Regions from separate parts of the Homo sapiens genome. Here all the other regions are linked to region 3. The links are contacts of gene promoters, found by promoter capture Hi-C in human tissues and cell types (Jung and others, 2019). All regions are on one chromosome and are shown on one strand. Each heading gives the region's core, a stretch centred on a gene start or on the middle of the fragment in contact. The rest is flanking DNA. Distances are from core to core; before and after follow the strand shown.

The links. The method cuts DNA at HindIII sites, captures the fragments that hold promoters and counts their contacts. A contact is called where the count stands out against the background at its distance.
Region 1: the fragment with the promoter of PKMYT1 here is called in contact with the fragment with the promoter of NME3 in region 3 in 1 of the 25 tissues and cell types used here (spleen).
Region 2: the fragment with the promoter of WDR90 here is called in contact with the fragment with the promoter of NME3 in region 3 in 1 of the 25 tissues and cell types used here (spleen).
Region 4: the fragment with the promoter of WFIKKN1 here is called in contact with the fragment with the promoter of NME3 in region 3 in 1 of the 25 tissues and cell types used here (spleen).
Region 5: a contact is called between a fragment that was not itself captured here and the fragment with the promoter of NME3 in region 3, in 1 of the 25 tissues and cell types used here (spleen).
Region 6: a contact is called between the fragment with the promoter of RHOT2 here and the fragment with the promoter of NME3 in region 3, in 1 of the 25 tissues and cell types used here (dorsolateral prefrontal cortex).

Annotation. Positions count from the first base shown.
Region 1 is chr16:2,978,723-2,981,835 of GRCh38, forward strand. It overlaps PKMYT1 (protein kinase, membrane associated tyrosine/threonine 1), which reads right to left and starts at 1,724. Exons shown (of 9, transcript NM_004203.5): 1 at 1,564-1,724; 2 at 926-1,190. The coding sequence starts at 935. RefSeq lists enhancers at 414-1,290, 1,291-2,166, 2,167-3,043 and silencers at 1,458-1,687, 1,698-2,057. The HindIII fragment of the contact is 14,611 bases long and covers 1-3,113 here.
Region 2 is chr16:647,964-651,364 of GRCh38, forward strand. WDR90 (WD repeat domain 90) reads left to right here and starts at 1,402. Exons shown (of 41, transcript NM_145294.5): 1 at 1,402-1,463; 2 at 1,800-1,891; 3 at 2,028-2,204; 4 at 2,291-2,399; 5 at 2,576-2,746; 6 at 3,032-3,140; 7 at 3,236-3,303. The coding sequence starts at 1,454. It overlaps MCRIP2 (MAPK regulated corepressor interacting protein 2), which reads left to right. Exons shown (of 5, transcript NM_138418.4): 5 at 157-511. The coding sequence ends at 227. It overlaps LOC105371038 (a long non-coding RNA gene), which reads right to left and starts at 1,350. Exons shown (of 2, transcript NR_135177.1): 1 at 992-1,350; 2 at 495-652. RefSeq lists enhancers at 1-16, 1,439-2,261 and silencers at 1,437-1,536, 1,647-1,776. The HindIII fragment of the contact is 7,525 bases long and covers 1-3,401 here.
Region 3 is chr16:1,769,199-1,772,792 of GRCh38, forward strand. NME3 (NME/NM23 nucleoside diphosphate kinase 3) reads right to left here and starts at 2,345. Exons shown (of 5, transcript NM_002513.3): 1 at 2,291-2,345; 2 at 2,082-2,212; 3 at 1,872-1,973; 4 at 1,683-1,795; 5 at 1,122-1,568. The coding sequence starts at 2,336. The coding sequence ends at 1,451. MAPK8IP3 (mitogen-activated protein kinase 8 interacting protein 3) reads left to right here. Exons shown (of 32, transcript NM_001318852.2): 32 at 1-1,153. MRPS34 (mitochondrial ribosomal protein S34) reads right to left here. Exons shown (of 3, transcript NM_023936.2): 2 at 3,406-3,448; 3 at 2,697-3,315. The coding sequence ends at 3,023. RefSeq lists silencers at 1,581-1,780, 2,091-2,680, 3,551-3,594 and an enhancer at 2,981-3,070. The HindIII fragment of the contact is 25,298 bases long and covers 1-3,594 here.
Region 4 is chr16:629,662-632,929 of GRCh38, forward strand. WFIKKN1 (WAP, follistatin/kazal, immunoglobulin, kunitz and netrin domain containing 1) reads left to right here and starts at 1,324. Exons shown (of 2, transcript NM_053284.3): 1 at 1,324-1,763; 2 at 2,921-3,268. The coding sequence starts at 1,593. RefSeq lists enhancers at 1-682, 208-502, 683-1,417. The HindIII fragment of the contact is 11,828 bases long and covers 1-3,268 here.
Region 5 is chr16:709,985-713,421 of GRCh38, forward strand. No RefSeq gene overlaps it. Among named protein-coding and RNA genes, the nearest start is that of METRN, 3.4 kb to the right of the region's middle. RefSeq lists a silencer at 1,876-2,005. The HindIII fragment of the contact is 2,976 bases long and covers 1-2,745 here.
Region 6 is chr16:666,882-669,409 of GRCh38, forward strand. It overlaps RHOT2 (ras homolog family member T2), which reads left to right and starts at 1,251. Exons shown (of 19, transcript NM_138769.3): 1 at 1,251-1,355; 2 at 1,472-1,530; 3 at 1,607-1,688; 4 at 1,775-1,818. The coding sequence starts at 1,319. It overlaps WDR90 (WD repeat domain 90), which reads left to right. Exons shown (of 41, transcript NM_145294.5): 40 at 24-108; 41 at 551-949. The coding sequence ends at 708. RefSeq lists an enhancer at 962-1,643 and silencers at 1,029-1,368, 1,429-1,528, 1,629-1,718. The HindIII fragment of the contact is 52,780 bases long and covers 1-2,528 here.

The DNA of each region.
Region 1 (3,113 bases), core at 474-2,973, 1.2 Mb after region 3:
GGGCAACAGAGCGAGACTCTGTCTCAAAAAAAAAAAAAAATTTAATTGGATTGGACCGTGGAACACTTTATGCCCCAAGGTATTGTTTGTTTGTTTGTTTTTGAGACAGGGTCTCACTCTGTTGCCCAGGCTGGAGTGCAGTGGTATGATCTCGGCCCACTGCAGCCTCCGACTCCCAGGTTCAAGTAATTCTCTTGCCTCAGCCTCCTGAGTAGCTGGGATTACAGGCGTGTGCCAACACACTAGAATAATTTTTATATTTTTAGTAGAGATGTGGTTTCACCATGTTGGTGAGGCTGGTGCACCAAAGTATTATAAAAAACAATAGAGCGGCTGGGTGTGGTGGCTCACGCCTGTAATCCCAGCACTTCGGGAGGCAAGGTGGGTGGATCACTTGAGGTCAAGACTTCGAGACCAGCCTGGCCTACATGGTGAAACCCCATCTCTACTAAAGATACAAATTTTTGCCGGGCGTGCTGGTGCATGCCTGTAGTCCCAGCTACTCAGAGGCTGAGGCAGGAGAAATGCTTGAACCCAGGAGGTGGAAGTTGCGGTGAGCCGAGATTGCGGCATTGCACTCCAACTGGGCGACAAGAGCAAAACTCCATCTCAAAAAAATATACATAATAGTAAATAAAAAATTAAAAAGAGCAGTCTCCAGTACCTGAGGGAGTACAGGGGTGAGGGGAGCGATGCTACCTGGGCCTGGCTGGCAGGCTGCCCTCCATCTTGTGGAGACTCTTCCTCTGACTCTAACTACCTCAGAGTCCCAGCCCAGGGTTTCTCCAAGTCAGGAGCCAGGGTGTTGGGATCCTGGAGGTCACTGGTCACAAGCACAGCCTCCAGGCCCAACCCTGGCACACTCGGGGACCTGGGCCTGTGCATCTTAACCCAGTTCTCCCACCGTCCCTGCCCTACGACTTACGTTCTAGCATGACTGGCCTGGCCCAACAGCCTCAGTGGTGGGACGGGGGAGGCAGGAGCAGGGGCTCCCACGTGAATCCAGGGTGTCCCTGAGCTAAGGCCAGGCGGGGGTGACCTCCGCAGCTTCCGGGGCCCTGGGCGATCGGGCCGTCTCGCCTCACCCTCTCACCAGGCCCGACACATCTGCTGGCCACCTTTCCCGGTAGACGGTAAGTTCCTCCCAGGCAGGGCCGCGGCTGACTTCACTCCGTGGGTGTGGGGAAGCCCTGGCGAACAGAGCAGTGGACGGGCTGTCACGAGGGAAGAGGGGCTGTTGCAGAAGAAGAGAGGCTGTCCCGGGGCAGGGGCTGTCACGGAGGAAGGACTGTCACGGGGAGGGCGGCGGCGCGGGGTTGATGGACAGCAGGCGGGGTCTCCGGGAGGGGCGAGTAGGGCGGGACCGCCGCTGGGAAGGGGCTCGAGGCAAGGGAACCAGGAATTGGGGAGGACGGGAGGCAGGGGCTCGCGGGGGCGGGCCTGAGGGGACGCGAGCGGGCCGCCGGGGAGGCCTGAGGGGCAGGGGTAACGCAGACCTGGCGAGGCGGAGGGGAGCGGCGAGGTGGCCACGCCGAGGCCCCTCACGGCGGGGTCTGGGCTCACCTGGGGCGACTGGGCGGGGCGCGGGTCCGCGAGGGCCCAGATTCCGGGTCCGCGGAGGCCACGGGACCCCTCGGGTGGCTCAGCGGGCCGGAGTCTGCCGTCGACTGTTCCGGACGCCCGGGCGGAGGACTCCCGTGAGGGGGAACGGCCCGTGAACGCGCGCGGAGCTGCTCGCGCCAAAAATTCCAAACCGGCCTCGAGGCTCCTCCCCCTCCCCAGTGCAGCCCGTCAGGGGTGCCCGGGCTCCGAGGCTCCGCCCCTCGTGCTGCGTGCGCGCCGCCGAGCCGCCCCGCCGCTCACTGCGCAGGCGCACAGGATTCTCCGCGCTGGCCCGGGGCGTGGGTGGCGGCCTGGTTCTGAGTCGCTGCGCGGGGCTTCAGCCGCCCAGTCCCTGGGACGCCCACTGCCCTCCAGGCCTCGCACCCGACACCCACCGCCCTCGCTGGGCTGGCGTAGTGTTTGGGTCCATAAAAGGGACCGCCATCCCGGTGCTCGGAGCAGGCGTAGCCCCAGGGTTACTCCGGGTAGGACCAGGAAGTCCCTACGGCCTCCTGGGTCCCGGCACCCCCCTTCTCACTCCGGCCGTGTTCTGAACCAGGGTCGCGGTGGGAGGCCAGACGCACGACCCCCAACCCCTAGCGCACGGCTTCGGGAGCCAGAAAAAGCCGCCTCTTCCAGGAAGCTCTCCAGATAGGCAGGACTCTGCTTGGCCTGACCTCGCCTGCCTGCAGCTTCCCTGCCAACAGGCCTCAGATACTTTTTTTTTTTTTTTTAGACAGGGTCTCACTGTCACCAAGGCTGGAATGCAGTGGTGCAGTCCCCAGGTTCAGGCGGTTCTCCCAACCTCAGCCTGCCGAGTATGTGAGATCACAGGCGCGCGCCACCGCACTCGGCTCATGTATTTTATTTTTAGACAGGGTCTCATTCTGTTGTCCAGGCTGGAGTGCAGTGGGGCGATCTCGACTCACTGTAACTTCCGCCTCCCCCGCTCAAGCGTTCCTCCCACCTCAGCCTCCTGAGTAGCTGGGACCACAGGCGCGCGCCACCACACCCAACTAATTTTTGCATTTTTTTGTAGAGACGGTGTTTTACCATGTTGGCCAAGCTAGTGTCGAACTTCTGACCTCAAGCGATCCGCCCGCCTCGGCCTCCCAGAAGGCTGGGATTACAGGCGTGAGCCACCGCGATTGGCCGCAGGATCATAGTTCACTGCAGCCTCGAGCAGCCACTTCCGGGGCAGCTCCTCCATTCTCTGAGTTTGAGACTTGCTCTCAGCTCAGATCCCTTCAGCGCTCTCCTGGCTGAACGACCTTGGGAATGCACTGAGCCTTTCTGAGCTTCGGATTAGTCTCCTCTCCTGGAAAAAAAAAAACAGCTGAGGACGCTGGGATGATCCCCTAAAGTGATTAGCAGGGGCCCTCGCGGAGCAAGTCGGGCTAGGGATTGTTCCTTCCCTCACCGAGGGGCTCTTTATCTGTTTAACTGGGTGGGAGGAGTACGCTTCCGGCCAACCCTCCCCCAAACGCTGGCCTTCTCACTCTCACCTCTCC
Region 2 (3,401 bases), core at 152-2,651, 1.1 Mb before region 3:
CCCAGGGGATGAGGGAGGGGACTCTTGTGCAGAAACCCCTTCTTCCCAGCGCCTGCCGCACTCGGAGTCCGGGTGAGCGGCTTGTGGTTAGCTCCAGGGGAGACTTGCCGGCTGGCCTGGGAGGCAGCATCACTGCCCAGCCTTCTCTGCCCACAGACTTTGTGCCCATTGACCTAGACGAGTGGTGGGCGCAGCAGTTCCTGGCGAGAATCACCAGCTGTTCCTAGTGGCTGCTGGGAGGGGGCGCTGCTACACGGCCGACCTGTCGCCAGGAGAGAAGCATGGCGCCCTGCCCACCCACTGCGCCTGGCTGGGTGCCGGCCACACCTGAAGTGCCAGCATTTGGACTTTTGCACCTTTTTTTCCCTTGGCCCGGCTGTCCCAACCAAGCTGCCATGGCCAAGGGCCGAACCCGTCTGACCTCAGCCCTGCTCACTGTGCCCAGGGACCAGCGACCAGCCCCTGGGGCTGGCAGGGAGGAGCTCCAGGCTAATAAAGTGGAGAAACTGTCTTTTTGGAGTGTCTTTGACTTGGGAGGGTGTAGGGGGGGTTCTCATGTCCAGTTCCAGTCCACAGCCTGGGACGCCAGGCCCAGCACAAACTCCCCTTGTAGCCCTGTTCCTTCAAGCCGTTAGCTTCTCACCCAGCTGCCCTGCGACAGGTAGGAGGGACGTTAGCCAGCCCACCTTGCTTGGAAGTCTGGGGACCCCACTTGGTTCCTCTTTCCTCTCCCGTTGGCGTTGACTGGGACCGAAGCCGAGACTCAAGGCCTAAAGACATTAAATGGCCCCGGAGTGCAGTCCACCACCCCCCACTACCGGCACTGGGGCTGTGTCTCAGAACGCCAGGTCCCATTCTGAATCCGCCGGGCCCGGCCGCAGGACACTGGGCGAAGGAGTACGTGGGGAACCTGATAGGACGAACGTGGGAACCAGCCCCTCCGCGGGCGCCCGCACTACCTTCCCTGATGGACGGGGATGACCCAGCCCACCTGAGTCAGGACCCAGGGTACCCAGGTGTGGAGCAGGGGCCTCTGGACGGCGAGAGAGCGGCAGGGTGAGGCCCGGCCGTCCGTGGCATGGCCAGGCCTCAGCGCGACCTCGCCTCGCTGCTTGCATGCGGCGGGAGCCCCGGCCGGCCGAGGCGCTGACAGGTGGGCGCGGCGGAGGATCCGCAACCGGCGCGGGCTTCGAAGCCGGTCGGGCTAACAGGGGGCTGCCTTGGGAGGCCCGCGGGGCAAAGGGCAGCGGGATTCGCGGCTGGAGCAACCCTGGAGGCCGCTGACGTGAGCGGGGTACTCCCACCGGGGAGGTCACGTGGCCAGGGCGCCGCCATGACGGCGGAAGTAATGGCGGAAGTGGCACCGTTGCCAGGCAGCCGTTGCCTGGCGTCGCGGGGCGTACTCTGCGCTGGGCGCGCGGAGGCCTAGGCGGGAAGCTCGAGCGGCGGCGCCATGGCCCGAGGTAGCGCGCGGCTGGCGGGGGTCCCGAGGATCCCGGGTTCCGGGGTTCCGGGGTCCAGGGTCGGCGGCCGGAGCGCTCAGGGCCCCCGCCTAGGCCCTGAGGCCAGAGTCCCCGCTCAGGCAGGGTCCCGTCTGCCGGGCGCCCACCCTCGGGCTCCCGGAGCTTGGCTTCCCTCGGGCGCCCGGCCTCGTCCCGCCAGCCTAGCTGGCGTTGGCGTCGCCGGGGAAGGCGCGGAGAGCCCCGGCTCCTGCCTGGTCCCCGAGGCCCGGCCCAGCCCCGCAGTGGCCCCGGCTCGCGTGGCCGAGTCCCCTGACGCCCGGCGCCCGCTCCCCGCAGCGTGGCAGCACCCGTTCCTCAACGTCTTCAGACACTTCCGGGTGGACGAGTGGAAGCGCTCCGCCAAGCAGGGGGACGTGGCCGTGGTCACGGTAGGCGGCCGGGGGCTCGCCCGGAGCCCACACCCCTGCCCTGCCCCCAGGAGAGCTGCCCCGCCCCCGAGGGCCCCCTCGCCCCCGCTGCACTTCTTCTGGGTGCTGTCGGTGATGCGGGCTCCCGCTTCTCCAGGACAAGACCCTGAAGGGCGCCGTGTATCGCATTCGGGGCTCAGTCTCTGCCGCCAACTACATCCAGCTCCCTAAGAGCAGCACCCAGTCTCTGGGGCTGACGGGACGATACCTGTATGTGCTCTTTCGGCCCCTGCCCAGCAAGCACTTCGTCATCCACCTCGATGTGTCCTCCAAGGTACGGAGCCCGCGGCTGGGGGCTGCGTGGGAGCCCCGGCACCCCTGCGGCCCCTGTCTCCTCACGGCCCTGCTCCGTCCCCACAGGACAACCAAGTCATCCGTGTGTCTTTCTCCAACCTCTTCAAGGAGTTTAAGTCTACGGCCACGTGGCTCCAGTTTCCCTTGGTCCTGGAGGCCAGGACACCTCAGAGAGGTGACACCAAGATGGGGTGTGGATGATCCAGGACAGGTGGCTGGAGGGAGTTGGTGCAGGCCCAGTGAGGCTCCTCTGCGGCCTGGAGGACAACCTGGCGGGGGCACAAGCTCACAGTTCTGGGAGTCGCGGGCTGTCAGGAGGGTGGGCGCTGACCCTGAGTGCCCATCCTGCAGATCTGGTGGGTTTGGCCCCCTCCGGAGCCCGCTGGACCTGCCTGCAGCTCGATCTGCAGGACGTTCTCCTGGTCTACCTGAACCGGTGCTACGGCCATCTCAAGAGCATCAGGCTGTGCGCCAGCCTGCTGGTCAGGAACCTGTACACCAGTGACCTGTGCTTTGAGCCTGGTGAGGGCCGCACCTGCACTCCCCACTCCATATCTCACCCATGCTCTCAGCCCTGGAGAGGCCCAAGTCCAGGGTGCTTGGGAAAATACAGTGCTCGAGCTGTGCTGTCTCTGAGCTCTGGCCAGAACCCATCCCAGAGGCAGCCCTGGGGTCAGAACCCATCCCAGAGGCAGCCCTGGGGTGGGGCGGTGGCTGGGCTGGTGGCGTGGCAGTGCCTTGGCGGGTGCCCTGTGTTCAGGTGGCTAAACAGCCTCCCTTGACCTGGAACAACCCTGCTCCTTGTAGCCATCTCTGGGGCCCAGTGGGCAAAGCTGCCCGTGACTCCTATGCCTCGGGAAATGGCATTCCCTGTGCCCAAGGGAGAGAGCTGGCATGACCGCTACATCCACGTCCGGTGAGTGGTTCTGCTTCTTTCGAGGGAGGCCTCGGTGGTGGGAGGGTGGGTGGCCCTTGGGCCCCCAGACACTGACTCTCCCTCTGCCTGCCAAGGTTTCCAAGTGAGAGCTTGAAAGTGCCTTCCAAGCCGATTGAGAAGAGCTGTTCCCCTCCTGAGGCAGGTGGGTCTGGGGGGTCAGCGGGGACCCAGGTTAAGGCCTGTAGGGTGCGTGGGGCTCGGTAGGAGAGGGCAGGGCTGGGAAAGGACCCAGTGGTGTGC
Region 3 (3,594 bases), core at 1,095-3,594:
CCGCCGCCGAGGCTGCCTGCCCTGGGCCCACCTCTGCATGCTGCTCATGGGGCCACCCTGCCTCCTGGGCCCTCACTCTGCCTAGGGGAGCTGGGCCAGGCACTAGCCTTTGCCCAGGGAGGTGGGCCTCAGGCTGCCCAGGTGCCTGCACCCCAGCCGGCCTTCTCTGGGGCCTCCCCGTCGTCAAGCCTCTATCCTGTCTGTCCCCACCCCAGCTGTCCCCTGCCCAGGGAGCTGGCATAAAAGCACGAGGCCCGGCTCCCTGGGGCAGCTGCTTGAGAACAGAGACTGCTACCCCATCCTGCCCATGCAGGCAGGCTCTTGCCAGCCCCGTTCTGACCCGTGTCCCCCCAGGCTCTGCCTGGGCAGAAGACTCACCTTGGAGGAGTGGGCCCTGGAGTCCTGTCCCTCCCAGAAGCCCCCAGGGTGGGATTTCTCAGGCTGCCAGGGCAGGCCCAGGCCTCAGGAAGAAGGGGAGGCCCCTGGCCTCTCCGGGATCAGTCCTAGGACACAGGCTCAGCCTCAGGTTGATGGGGGATGATGTGCTCCCGGGGCCTGCCTCCTGCACGGGGCTCCACGGAGCCCAGCTCCCAGACACGCTACTAAGTGCCTAGGGTTGCCCGCTGTGGCCTGCTTCCAGGGAGCAACAGAGAGGCCACCAAGCAGAGGCCCGTGGGGCTGAGGATGGAGCCGCCCCCAGCCGACTCCAAGCCCGCAGAGGGCAGACGCCACCCTGGACTGCTCTCCCTGCCCAGCTGGGCCTCTCTGGCCTATTCCTACCTTCCAGGCCCACTGCACTCCTGTCTGGGAGGCCCTTATGAGGGCAGCCCAGCCCCCGCACCCACCCCCAACCAGAGAAGCACAGATCTTGGGGAGCTGCCCCACAAGCCCCGCTGGCCACCGAGGGCTGCAGCCGCTGCGCTGCCGGCTTCTCCCCACCACCCTGCCACCTCCACTGTGATGTATGTCCGCTCCCTCGTCTGTTCCCCCAGGATCTCGAAGTGACTCCGGGCTGAGCAGTGGGGCGGCTGGGGGAGGGGTGACGATTCTCCTCAGGCTTTGGCCCTGCAAGCAAACCCACATATCTGCTCTGTATGTAATAAATGTCTTAACGTCGTAGCTGCCTGTTCCTGGGCCCAAATCGAAACGAAAACGAGGACTTTATTATAAAAAAACGTTGGACCACGTTGGGCTGGGCACCAGGACAGTGTCCTGGCACGTTTCCAGGCGAGCCGCGCAGGCTCCTGGAGCAGCTCCTCGGGCAGGAAACCCTGTACGCCAGGGATTGGAGAGGCCTGCGCCACCCTCCATGCAACGTCCAGACAGGTGGATGTTCAGCAGCCCGTCCAAAGGGATGCTCCAAGCGCTGTGGGGTGGGGCCAGAAGCCCGCCCACCTGGGCCCTGGAGGAGGCTGGAGTGTGAGAGCCTCTGTGACGCGCATCTGCCGGGCTACTCATACAGCCAGTGCCCAGCGCTGTCCTCCCAGCAGAGGAGCTCGTCTGCGCGGAACCAGAGAGCGATCTCGCGGCGGGCACTCTCCACCGAGTCGCTGCCGTGAATCAGGTTCCTGCGCGGAAGAGGCGCGTGTGAGCGTGGGAAAGAGACCTCCGGCACGGGTACCACGCAGGCTGAACAGGGGGAGGCCGGACGGGGCTGGGACCGTCCCCGGGGCGGGCCTTACTTGCCAACCTCGATGCAGAAATCCCCGCGGATGGTGCCGGGCGGGGCGTCGGCCGGGTTCGTGGCTCCGATGAGCGCCCGCGAGGTGCGCACCACGTCCAGCCCCTGCCATACCTGTGCGGAGGAACGGGCGCGGTATCACGCGGGGGTGGGGGTCCCGGAGCCGCCCGCCCGCTTCCCGGATACTCACCATGGCCACCACCGGCCCGGAGGCCATATACTTGACAAGGCGGCCGTAGAACGGGCGTTCACGCAGCTCGGCGTAGTGCTCACGCAGCAGCTCCTCGGAGGCCTGCGGAAGGGTCAGGCCGCCTGCGCCCGCACCCGGCACCTAGGCGTCCCCAGGTCCCCGCTCCCCTTCCCCCCACACCGCGCCCCCGCTCGCTCACCGCGCCCCCACCTGCACCAGCTTCAGCGCCACCAACTTGAAGCCCTTCCTCTCGAAGCGCCGCACAATCTCGCCCACCAGCCGCCGCTGCACGCCGTCCGGCTTCACGGCCAGGAAGGTGCGTTCGTGTGCGCCGGTGCAGGCTGCGGGGCAGGCGGGGACGGGCCGTCAGGCCGGCCCAGCACCGGCCACCCGCCCCCGGCCCGCGCCGCGCGGCTCACCCGCGGGGAAGAGGTTAGCGAAGATGGTCAGCACCAGGCAGATCATGATGGCGGTGCGGGAGCGGGATCCGCGGGGCGGGGCGGTGGCGCCCGGGGCGGGGCCTGCGCTTAAAGAGGCCTGGTCGGGGCGCTGCGGCCTCCGCGGGGAGGCTGCTTCACTTGCACCCCGGAACCCGGCAGCCGTGGGGGGCCGGAGGGCAGCTGCGGAGGCCAAGTCTCCTCCAGCAGCTCGGACACTAACTGTATCCCCCACAACCCGCCCAGGTGGTTCCACCCACGCGGCGCCCTGCTCCGCACCGCCCGAACCCCGCCCCCCCCGCGCCCCCCCGGCCAGGGCCACGACCACAGCGTCAGCCCTTCTCTCCCCGGTCCTAAAGACAGAGCGCAAAGACACCACGACCCTGGGTACTTCTTTTCTCTTTATTCCCTTTCATAGCTTCTGCCGGGATCCAGGCAGAGAGAGCACTAATGGGGGAAAGGGAGCGAGCGCTTCCCGCTTTCCCCAGCGTGGGCCCTCGGAGTTGGGTGTGGGGGCAGCAGGGCCAGAGGAAAGGCACAGGTGGCGATTTGCCCCAGCCCTCCCCCCTAAGATGCAGACCCTCAGAACACGTCGCGGAAGGTGAGCTCCCTGCTCCGAGAGGCAGACTCGGGTGTAACGCAAAGACGGTTTCTTTCATCAATAAGGTCCCCACTGCCTCACAGCCCCTAAGGCCACCCGCTGGTTCTGGCATTCTAGACGGGGGTGCCCTTGGCCCTTCCTTTGTCTTCCTGTTTTGCAGGGTAATCCCAGGGTTCCATGCGTATCCTCTGCACATTCAGCATGGGCTCCTCGGTGCTTGTGTCTCCATTTTTCTGTCGTTCTGCGATAATCATGGCCCGGAGGAGAGGCGGGTACGGCACGGAGGCCAGGCTGTCTTCCGGCGCCGGCGTGAACGCGGTGAAGGCCTCCTCCTCGTGCTTGGGCACCAGCCGCCAGTCATGGTACATGACGTGTTCGATCTCCCGCGCCTCGCTCTCAGTCTTCCCTGATGAAGAAAAAGAGGCGTCTGCACACACTTGCTGTGCCGTCGGCGGTCGGCATCGAACTGCCGGGCACCCGCTCTCCCGAGCCTTACCTTTGAAGGTCAGGATGCCCCAGGCCTTCCCGTGGTCCAAGTTCTGCAAAGCCAGAAGGAAGCGGGGTCAGCTCGCAAAGCTCTCGGCCCCCGAGGTCAGGAGGTGGGAGCCTCAGCCACGCAAACCTGCAGGGAGGAGGGGAGGCGGGGAGACCAGGCGGCTGCAGGGGCGGGGTGCGGACGGGGTGC
Region 4 (3,268 bases), core at 74-2,573, 1.1 Mb before region 3:
GCTATGCCCGGCCCAGGGGGGTGTGGACGCCCCGGAGGTCACAGCTGAGCTGGAACGGGGCACTCCAGTTGGTACAGGGACCAGACCACAGCCTCTGGCTCAGGTGCCTCCCTGTGCTGTTTCGTGGGCATGTCCGGGCCTTAAGCCCCTCCCTGGCAGCTCCAGCCCAGCCGCCTGCTGCTGGGTCTGGCCTAGCTACCCCCACCCCCACGCTATCAGGGCCCACCCCCAGTCTCCTTGTAGAGCAGGGACTGGCGCCTGGAGCCGTCTCCGGGTCTCATTCTGACCAGACCAGGCTCCTGTTACCCTGCCTCCTGGGTCAGAGGTCAGACACAGGGTCAGGGGGACACTCCCATCCGGTCTCAAGAGAACCACTCCCTGAGGCCCCAGACATCTGGAGCCACAGAGGGTTTGGAAGGGTAGATTCCAGGCAGCCTTTTGTCCTGCTGCACCAGGCAGGCCAGCCCCCTGCCCTCCCCAACGAAGAGGAGCCAGCCTGGGGATGTGTGCCCCGCCGACGGGGGGCTGGGGCAGGGCAAGGCTCTGGTGCCCTGGGACACTTGCTCTTTTCAGCTGCAGACGCCCTTGCACTTGGCCTTCCCTCGGGCGGTGCCATCCCACGCGGAGCCACGTCCAGGGCTACACGGTGCGTGGGCCGAGGCTCCGGCATCAGCGTTTCGGGCTGTTCTTATGCTTGTGGTGGCCACAGGCCTCTTCCTGCTGCACCTGCCCCGCCTTGGGGACAGGCCTGAGCCCCAAGCCCGCTGCCTGGTTTCAGGGATGGGGTCTCTGGGAATGCAGTCCTGCCGGGTTGGGCCCCACTCCAACAGGGGCAGCAGAGCAGAGGAGGCCGGGCTGTGCTGGGCGTCCTGCAGACCCCTGTGCCCCTGAAACAGCCATGGAGGGGGGAAGGAACCTCGGAGCGGAGTGAAGCCCTCGGCCGCACGTGACCGTTGCCAGCCTGGACCTGGCCCGGGGGACCCAGGCTGTGGTCAGCCACGCTCTGCGGGGAGGGCCCGTGCCTGCCACCCCCATGGCATAGGAGCCTGGGGTCCAGAGGGCGCCAGGGACAAAAGCTGGGATCTGCTGGCCCTGCCCCCACCCTACTGAGGGTCGTCAAGGAGATTGATCTCAGCCCAGGGGTGGACGAAGGGGTTCAGGTTACAGGGTCCCCTCCCCTCCCCCTCTCCAGCCAGAGCCAGCCCTTCCCCGCCCCGGTGACCCTCATGGCCAGTGGCTCTGTGCTCATGGGCCTCTGGCCCCTCCCCAACCTCCTCCCCTCTGCCCTGTGCTGACCAGGGCCTGGGAGCCCCCGCACGGTTCAGACAGAGGGGCCAGGCTGAAGCTGGAGAGGAACCAGCGTCACACAGACGGCCTCTGAGAACTTGGAGACCCCGTTACCCACCCAGCAGGGGTGTCAGGACAAGCATCTGCTGCAGGCTTCAGCCTCAGGGGCAAAAGGGAGCCCCGGGGTCCTGGTGGGGGCACCGACCACAGGCCCGGAGGGTGGATGCCTGCAGGAAGCTGGGCTCTGTGGAGCCCGAGGAGGGGCTGGTGGCCACACCCCCCGGCCCCCTGGCTCGGCGGCCCTCATGCCCGCCCTACGTCCACTCCTGCCGCTCCTGCTCCTCCTCCGGCTGACCTCGGGGGCTGGCTTGCTGCCAGGGCTGGGGAGCCACCCGGGCGTGTGCCCCAACCAGCTCAGCCCCAACCTGTGGGTGGACGCCCAGAGCACCTGTGAGCGCGAGTGTAGCAGGGACCAGGTGAGTGTGGTCGGGCCGGGGTCCTGGGGCTCAGAGCAGCCAGCCTGGGCAAGACCCTGCTGGAGGTGCCACCTTCTGCCTGGGCTCCCCAGACTTCTGGGGGGTCTGGGTCTGGGCCCCTTAAGGGGCCCAGAGACACCCCCATCGTTGCCCTCATTTGTCTTAAGAATAAGAGCCCTCCCCACTCCAGCTTTCATGCTCCCCATGTGCCTCCACCCTGGGGCACCATCATCCTCGGCGACCACCCCCACCCCGTCACTGCCTCTCCTCCCACCCTCTCCTCCCACCCTCTCCTCCCATCCACTTCTCCCACCCCTTCACTGCCTCTCCTTCCATCCTCTCCTCCCACCCTCTCCTCCCATCCACTCCTCCCATCCACTTCTTCCATCCTCTTCTCCCACCCCGTCACTGCCTCTCCTTCCATCCTCTCCTATCCACTCCTCCCATCCACTTCTTCCATCCTCTTCTCCCACCCCATCACTGCCTCTCCTTCCATCCTCTCCTATCCACTCCTCCCATCCACTTTTTCCATCCTCTTCTCTCACCCCGTCATTGCCTCTCCTTCCATCCTCTCCTCCCATCCACTTCTCCCACCCCTTCACTGCCTCTCCTCCCACCCTCTCCTCCCATCCACTCCTCCCATCCACTCCTCCCATCCACTTCTTCCATCCTCTTCTCCCACCCCGTCACTGCCTCTCCTTCCATCCTCTCCTCCCACCCTCTCCTTCCATCCTCTCCTCCCACCCTCTCCTTCCATCCACTGTCCTCCCTGTCCTCCCACCCTCCTTCCATCCGGGACCAGTGCAGATGGTGGTGGGGGTGCTGCAGCCGATGTCCAGCCTTTGTCCTGGCCCGCACCACCTGCTGGGTGGTCCTGAGCACTGTACGCCCTCCTTGGGCCTCAGTTTCCTCGTCTGTACAACGTAAAGAATAACGGAACTTGCTTGTGGGTGTGAGGATTCTGGAAGGTAAGCCAGGTGGCACCTCTGGCGAGGTGGCTCCTCACACAGGATGGAAAGGACACTGAGTCCCCGGGGAGGCAGCCACAGAGCGGGGGGCTCCCTGCTACCCCACCTGGGCCTCCCCTTGCAGGGGCCAGGCCAGAGCCCCGGGGCGGGGGGCATTGGGGCTCCCACCTAAGTGTCCCCCATCCCCAGGACTGTGCGGCTGCTGAGAAGTGCTGCATCAACGTGTGTGGACTGCACAGCTGCGTGGCAGCACGCTTCCCCGGCAGCCCAGCTGCGCCGACGACAGCGGCCTCCTGCGAGGGCTTTGTGTGCCCACAGCAGGGCTCGGACTGCGACATCTGGGACGGGCAGCCCGTGTGCCGCTGCCGCGACCGCTGTGAGAAGGAGCCCAGCTTCACCTGCGCCTCGGACGGCCTCACCTACTACAACCGCTGCTATATGGACGCCGAGGCCTGCCTGCGGGGCCTGCACCTCCACATCGTGCCCTGCAAGCACGTGCTCAGCTGGCCGCCCAGCAGCCCGGGGCCGCCGGAGACC
Region 5 (3,437 bases), core at 8-2,507, 1.1 Mb before region 3:
CTGCCTGTGCAGGGGGGCAGGTGGCCGGTGGAGGGGAGCCAGGGGTTGTGCAGGCTGCCTGGATGAGTCGGCAGCTAGGACTATGTCCTTGATGGGCCCCCAAGCACCCTGAGCCTCATAGGTCGGCTGGGTAGAGGGGACGCAGGCCAGTGCTCACAGCTGCACTATCAGAGCATGTTTCTGGGTGGCCCAGGGTCTGGCAGGCTCTTGGCACCCAGTGCCCCTCAGCTGTGGGAGCCATCTTCACTGTCCCAGACCCCAGCTCCACCCAGGGAGGGGGCAGCAGGGCGGCCGCAGAGCAGCACATTTGGCCAATCCCGTGCAGGGCTCAGCTGGGGACACAGGAGGCGCTGGCTTCAGGTCAGCCCACACCTCTCTCCTCGCTCCGCTGCCAGTGAACAGAGACACAGGCGGGGGTCTTGGCCTACGATCTGGCCCTTCTCTCTAGGCTTCCTCCCCATTTCCTGGGGGATCCTGTTCACCGGTGCGTCCAAACTCCCCAACTCCCTCAGGGCAGATGGGCTGGGTGGGGCCGGCCTTACCCGCCTCCCCTTTGCAGCAGGTCAAAGGCTCTGAGGCAGATGGAGCTTCAAGCAAACAAGGAGCCCCCAGGGCTCACCCTCTGTGGTTCCTGGTTTACTCGAAGTTCTGTCTGCCTCAGGGCCTTTGCCCCTCTTCTCCCCAGGGTTGGGGCTCCCTTCCTGCCCCCCCATCAACTCCCCTCGTCCTTGATGTTGCTCCCCCAGGGCCCCAGCCAGCCAGCTCCTGCCCTGGCCGTGACAGCTGCTATTCTGTGCCCGGCACTGTGGTGTCCCCAGCGGGTTGTTCGGCACTCCGTGGCGCAGCCACCTGTCCGCAGCCGCTCCCCTGCGGGACGTGGGCTGCCTGTGCCACGCACTGCTGGGGCCCAGCTCATGGCAAATGCAGCACTGGTGTCCTCCACGGGCCGGAACCTGTGTCTGGGGGGAGAACGCAGTGGCCGAAGGTGGGAACCATGTGGCAGTGACCAGGGTCTCGACCGCCCCCACCCCAGCACCCCCTCAGGCTGCAGCTCCAAGGGCCCTCTGGGCAAGACAGGAACAGAAACCAAGTCTCAGGCTTCGGGACAAGCTGTGAGGCTGGCCGCCCTGCCTTGGGCTGAGGGGCCTTGTGATATGGCGTCTGTGTTTGGCCACGGCCAGGCTGACCCGCAGGCGGGAGAGATGATTGTCCCAGACTCTGCACTCTCCAGGGGTGGCCTCACGCGCTAGGCCCAAGGTTTCTGAAACAAAGCCTCAGGGAAGTTCTTCCTTTTGTCTGACTTGAGTATGTCTTGCTGCTGTCGCGTTCTGACTTGGGTGGAAATGGAGAGAGGCCCCTTCTGGGGTTTCAGGGCACTCAAGGGTCTGGGGCTTGGGGCACTTGAGGGGGCCCCCAAACAGCACAGACAGCCACGGCATCACCTAAGCTTGGGGATGCCTTCCAGGCACTCCTCCGCCCAGCCACCCCCCACTTAGTCTGCTGGTATTTACTGAGCACCAGCACCCTGGCAAGTCGGGTCCTGTACCCATAGCAACTGAGGACAGACTCGGCCTTCCAGGCCCCTCCTGTAGGCAGCACAGCACTCACTGATGCCAGGTGCTTTCCTGGGTGGGGCCGGGGGCTGTGAGGAAAAGGGGTGTGTGTCCAGGGCTTCTCCTGTGGGTGGCTGCATTGGCACCGGATCCCCGGAGATGAGGCTGGGGAGGAGGCAGGGACGCCCGGGGTTGAGGCGTCAACTCGGGGCCAGGCATGTGCCATTCCAGACCAGGTCACCCCAGGAACCCCTCCCTCCAACCACAGACACTGGCCCCTCTCTGGAGGAGGCCTGGGGAGAAGTCCGGGGCCCAGGCTGTCAGGAGGGTGTCTGGGGCTGACCCTCACGCCGCCACCAGAGGGCGCCTGGAGCCCACCGTGCTGACCCGGGGACCGCCAAGCGGCAGCAGCCCTGGACGGCTGGGTGGCTGCAGCGGCCGACCCGTGTGCCTCTCCCCACCTCTGCGAGCACCTCATGTGCTCAGCCCCAGGCCGAGTCTACCCTTTAACCTTTACGATTTTTATATTTTATTTATTTATTTTTTAATTTTTATTGAGACAGGGTCTCTTCTGTCGCCCTGGTTGGAGTGCAGTGGTGCAATCACAGCTCACTGCAGCCTCACCCTCCTGGGCTTAAGCAATCCTCCTGCCACAGCCTCCCAAAGTGCTAAGACTACATGCATGAGCTGCTGCACCCAGCTAATTTTTGTAGTTTTAGTGGAGTTGGGGTTTCAACATGTTGGCCAGGCTGGTCTTGAACTCCTGATGTCAAGCGATCATCCTGCCTCAGCCTCCCAAAGTGCTGAGATTACAGGCAGGAGCTGCCACACCCGGCCTTAATTTTTATGTAATTAATTAATTAATTTTTATGAGACAGACTCTCACTCTGTCACCCAGGCTGGAGTGCAGTGGCCTGATCTCAGCTCACTGCAACCTCCACCTCCCGGGTTCAAGCGGTTCTCCTGTCTCAGCCTCCCAAGTAGCTAGGACTGCAGGCGTGCGCCACCACGTCCAGCTAATTTTTGTATTTTTAGTAGAGATGGGGTTTCACCATGTTGGCCAGGCTGGTCTCGAACTCCCGACCTTGTGATCTCCCTGCCTTGGCCTCCCAAACTGCTGAAATTACAGGTGGGAGCCGCTGCGCCTTGACAATTTTTATTTTTAATTGTAAGATATACATCATAACATCTACCATTTTACCCATTTTAAAGTGTGCAGTTCCGTACTGTTGAGTACATTTGTGTTGTGTAATCAAGCTCCTGAATTCTGTCCCCATTAAGCTCCAATCCCTCATTCCCCTCCCCAGCCCCTGCTCCACTTTCTGTCCTCATGACCGTGACTACTCTAAGGTGACTCACAGAAGTGGAATCCAACAGTGTTTGTCCTTTTGTCTCTGGCTTATTTTGCTCAGCGCATAAGCCTCCAGGCTCATCCAGGCTGTAGCGGGTGTCAAGGGACCAGAACTTCATTCCTTTTTATGGCTTAATAATGGACCCACCGCCAGGGGGTGCCGTGGCTCATGCCTGTAATCCCAACACTTTGGGAGGCTGAGGTGGGCGGATCACCTGAGGTCGGGAGTTCAAGACCAGCCTGACCAGCATGGAGAAACCTCGTCTCTACTAAAAATACAAAATTAGCCGGCATGATGGCACATGCCTGTAATCCCAGCTGCTCGGGAGGCTGACGCAGGAGAATCGCTTGAACCCAGGAGGTGGAGGTTGCAGTGAGCCAAGATCGCGCCATTGCACTCCAGACTGGGCAAAGAGCGAAACTCCATCTCAAAAAAAAAAAAAAAAAAAAAAAAAAAAAAGAGGCCGGGCGCGGTGGCTCACATCTGTAATCCCAGCACTTTGGGAGGCCAAGGCGGGCAGATCACGAGGTCA
Region 6 (2,528 bases), core at 1-2,500, 1.1 Mb before region 3:
AGCCTCACGCTGGCTGCTCACAGGTGGTGGAGAAGATACCACTGCCCTTTTTTGCCATGTCCCTGAGCCTGTCCCCCGGGACCCACCTCCTGGCTGTTGGCTTTGCTGGTGAGTGCTGGTGGATGCAGTTTGGGCCTGTCTTAGGTGGGGGCCAAGTGGGCTGACTGGTGCCCTGTTCCAAGACAGGTGCCTCACCTGTGCCCCGGGCTCCTCGTCTCTGGGGTGGGGTGAGGACATCTGCCCTAGAGAGGGTCCTGGAGTCAGGAGATGATGAGGCAGGTGAGGAACCAGGCACAGCGCCCAGCACAGGGCCTGAATGCACGGGTGGCAGCGACTTTTAAGGAGGGAACTGGCCCAGCTGCAGGCCGACAGCCTGGCAGTGATGGACCCCCTAGTCCCAGTGGCACGTGGAGGGCACAGCCAGGAGCCCTTTTAGCACCAGCTCCCCCGACCAGCATCATGCCCAGTGGGGACAGTCTGGGTGGGTTGGGGGAGCCCTCTGAGTGCTGCCTGGTCCTGGCCCTGGCCCACCTGCACCGTCTACCCACAGAGTGCATGCTGAGGCTGGTAGACTGTGCCATGGGGACTGCCCAAGACTTTGCCGGCCACGACAACGCAGTGCACCTGTGCAGGTTTACACCGTCCGCCAGGCTGCTCTTCACGGCCGCCCGCAACGAGATCCTTGTGTGGGAGGTCCCCGGCCTCTGAGATGCAGCAGGGACTGTGGTGGTGGGCATCACGCCTGGTCATGCCAGGCACCTGGACACAGGCTTGGCAGAGGCGCCAGGTTGTCAATGGCCTCATGCTGGGACAGGCCAGGATTCACGTAAATCGCCTGGAGCAAGCTGTTGTAAATTTGGCGCCCTGTGAATACTTTCATACCTGTTGCCCTTTTGCCTAAGAAATCTTTAATGTTTCTATCTTGTAATAAACATGGGCATTTATTGCATTATTGCTGCATTGTTGCACTGGCTGTCTCTGGTCACTCCTGGCCTGAGCTCAGCCTCTGCCCGTCCCTTAATCGGCTGTTTGTCAAGGCCCCTGTGGTGCCGTGAAGCAATGGCCGCTCGGCCTGCCAGGGCGCCAGGACCCTGCGCTGTCCGCCGTGGCCGGCGCGTCCACACGGTGGCGCGCCGCACAGCCTGTCCGCTCTGGCCCGCCCGGCTCGCTGGTGCGGCTGTGCGGGCGGGGCCGGAAGTGTGGGGACAGCGCGGGGCCGAGAACCGGAAGTGCGGGGCGGGCGCGGGGGCAGAGCGAAAGGCTTGAGGACCAGGTCGGGGCCGGGTTCCGGGTCGGGGAGCGGCTCCGGGCGGCAGCTATGAGGCGGGACGTGCGCATCCTGTTACTGGGCGAGGGTAGGCGCCGGCCCGGGGGTCTCGGAGCTGCGGCGGCCGTGAGGCGGGGTGAGGGTCTCGGGGGTCGGGGGGCGCCGTGACCTTGGCCCTCGCGCTGACCGCCTCGCCCCGCGCAGCCCAGGTGGGGAAGACGTCGCTGATCCTGTCCCTGGTGGGCGAGGAGTTCCCCGAGGAGGTAAGGGGCACGCCCGCCGCGGGGGTGGGAGCGGGCCCAGCCGGGGGTCCCTGGTGAGCGCGCGGGTCCCTTGCAGGTCCCTCCCCGCGCGGAGGAGATCACCATCCCCGCGGACGTCACCCCGGAGAAGGTGCCCACCCACATCGTGGACTACTCAGGTAGCGGCCGTAGCCTCCCGGGGGCCCGGCCCGCAGCGGTCCGGCGGGCCTGCTGGGTCCGCAGTGGAGTCTCTTTGTCCCCCTAGAAGCCGAGCAGACGGACGAGGAGCTGCGGGAGGAGATCCACAAGGTACCCGTGGTGCGCGGGACGAGGGAGGGGCTGGGCGCGGGCTCGGCCTAATCCGCTTCGCAGCCTGGGGGATTGGACCGAGGTGCTCCGGGTGTCCTTGGCCCTGATAATTCTGTGACCTCCGCACTGAGGGTTGTCGGGGCCCCTACAGCGCACCCCGCTGGGAGCCGGCACCGCTCAGTCCAGTGGTGCTCCAGGGATAACAGGACCCTTCCCCGCGGGCTCTCCCTCCCTCCTGCCGGGGTGGCAGCAGCGTTTGCTCTTCCTGTGGGCTCTGTGTGCGCCACGTCCCCGTGCTGTGTGCTCCAGCCCACCGTCCCGGCCTCCGGGCACCCGGAGCTCCCAGTACCAGAGCACGTGTGCCGGGGACATCTCCAGGCAAGGGCACAGGCCACAGCCACCCAGGGCAGCCCCTGCTGTTGGCACCCCTCACTGCGGTCCTGTCACTCTGTCTGTAGCGAGGGGGGAGGCAGGGGCCAAGGCGGCGGCTGTCTTGCAGGGTGTTGGGTTGCAGGTGTGGCCGTGTCTGTCCTGAGCCCTCTGCTCCAAGGGTCTTGCTGACCACAGTTATGCTTCTGGGGCCTGGTGTCCCTGCACTGGCAGTGGGCGGGGAAGAGGCTTCTCTGAGGGTTCAGCAGCAGCTCCCAGTGTGACACTGGGGAGTGCCTGCTCTGCCAACACCAGGCTGGAGGCAGGTTTTAGGGAAGGCT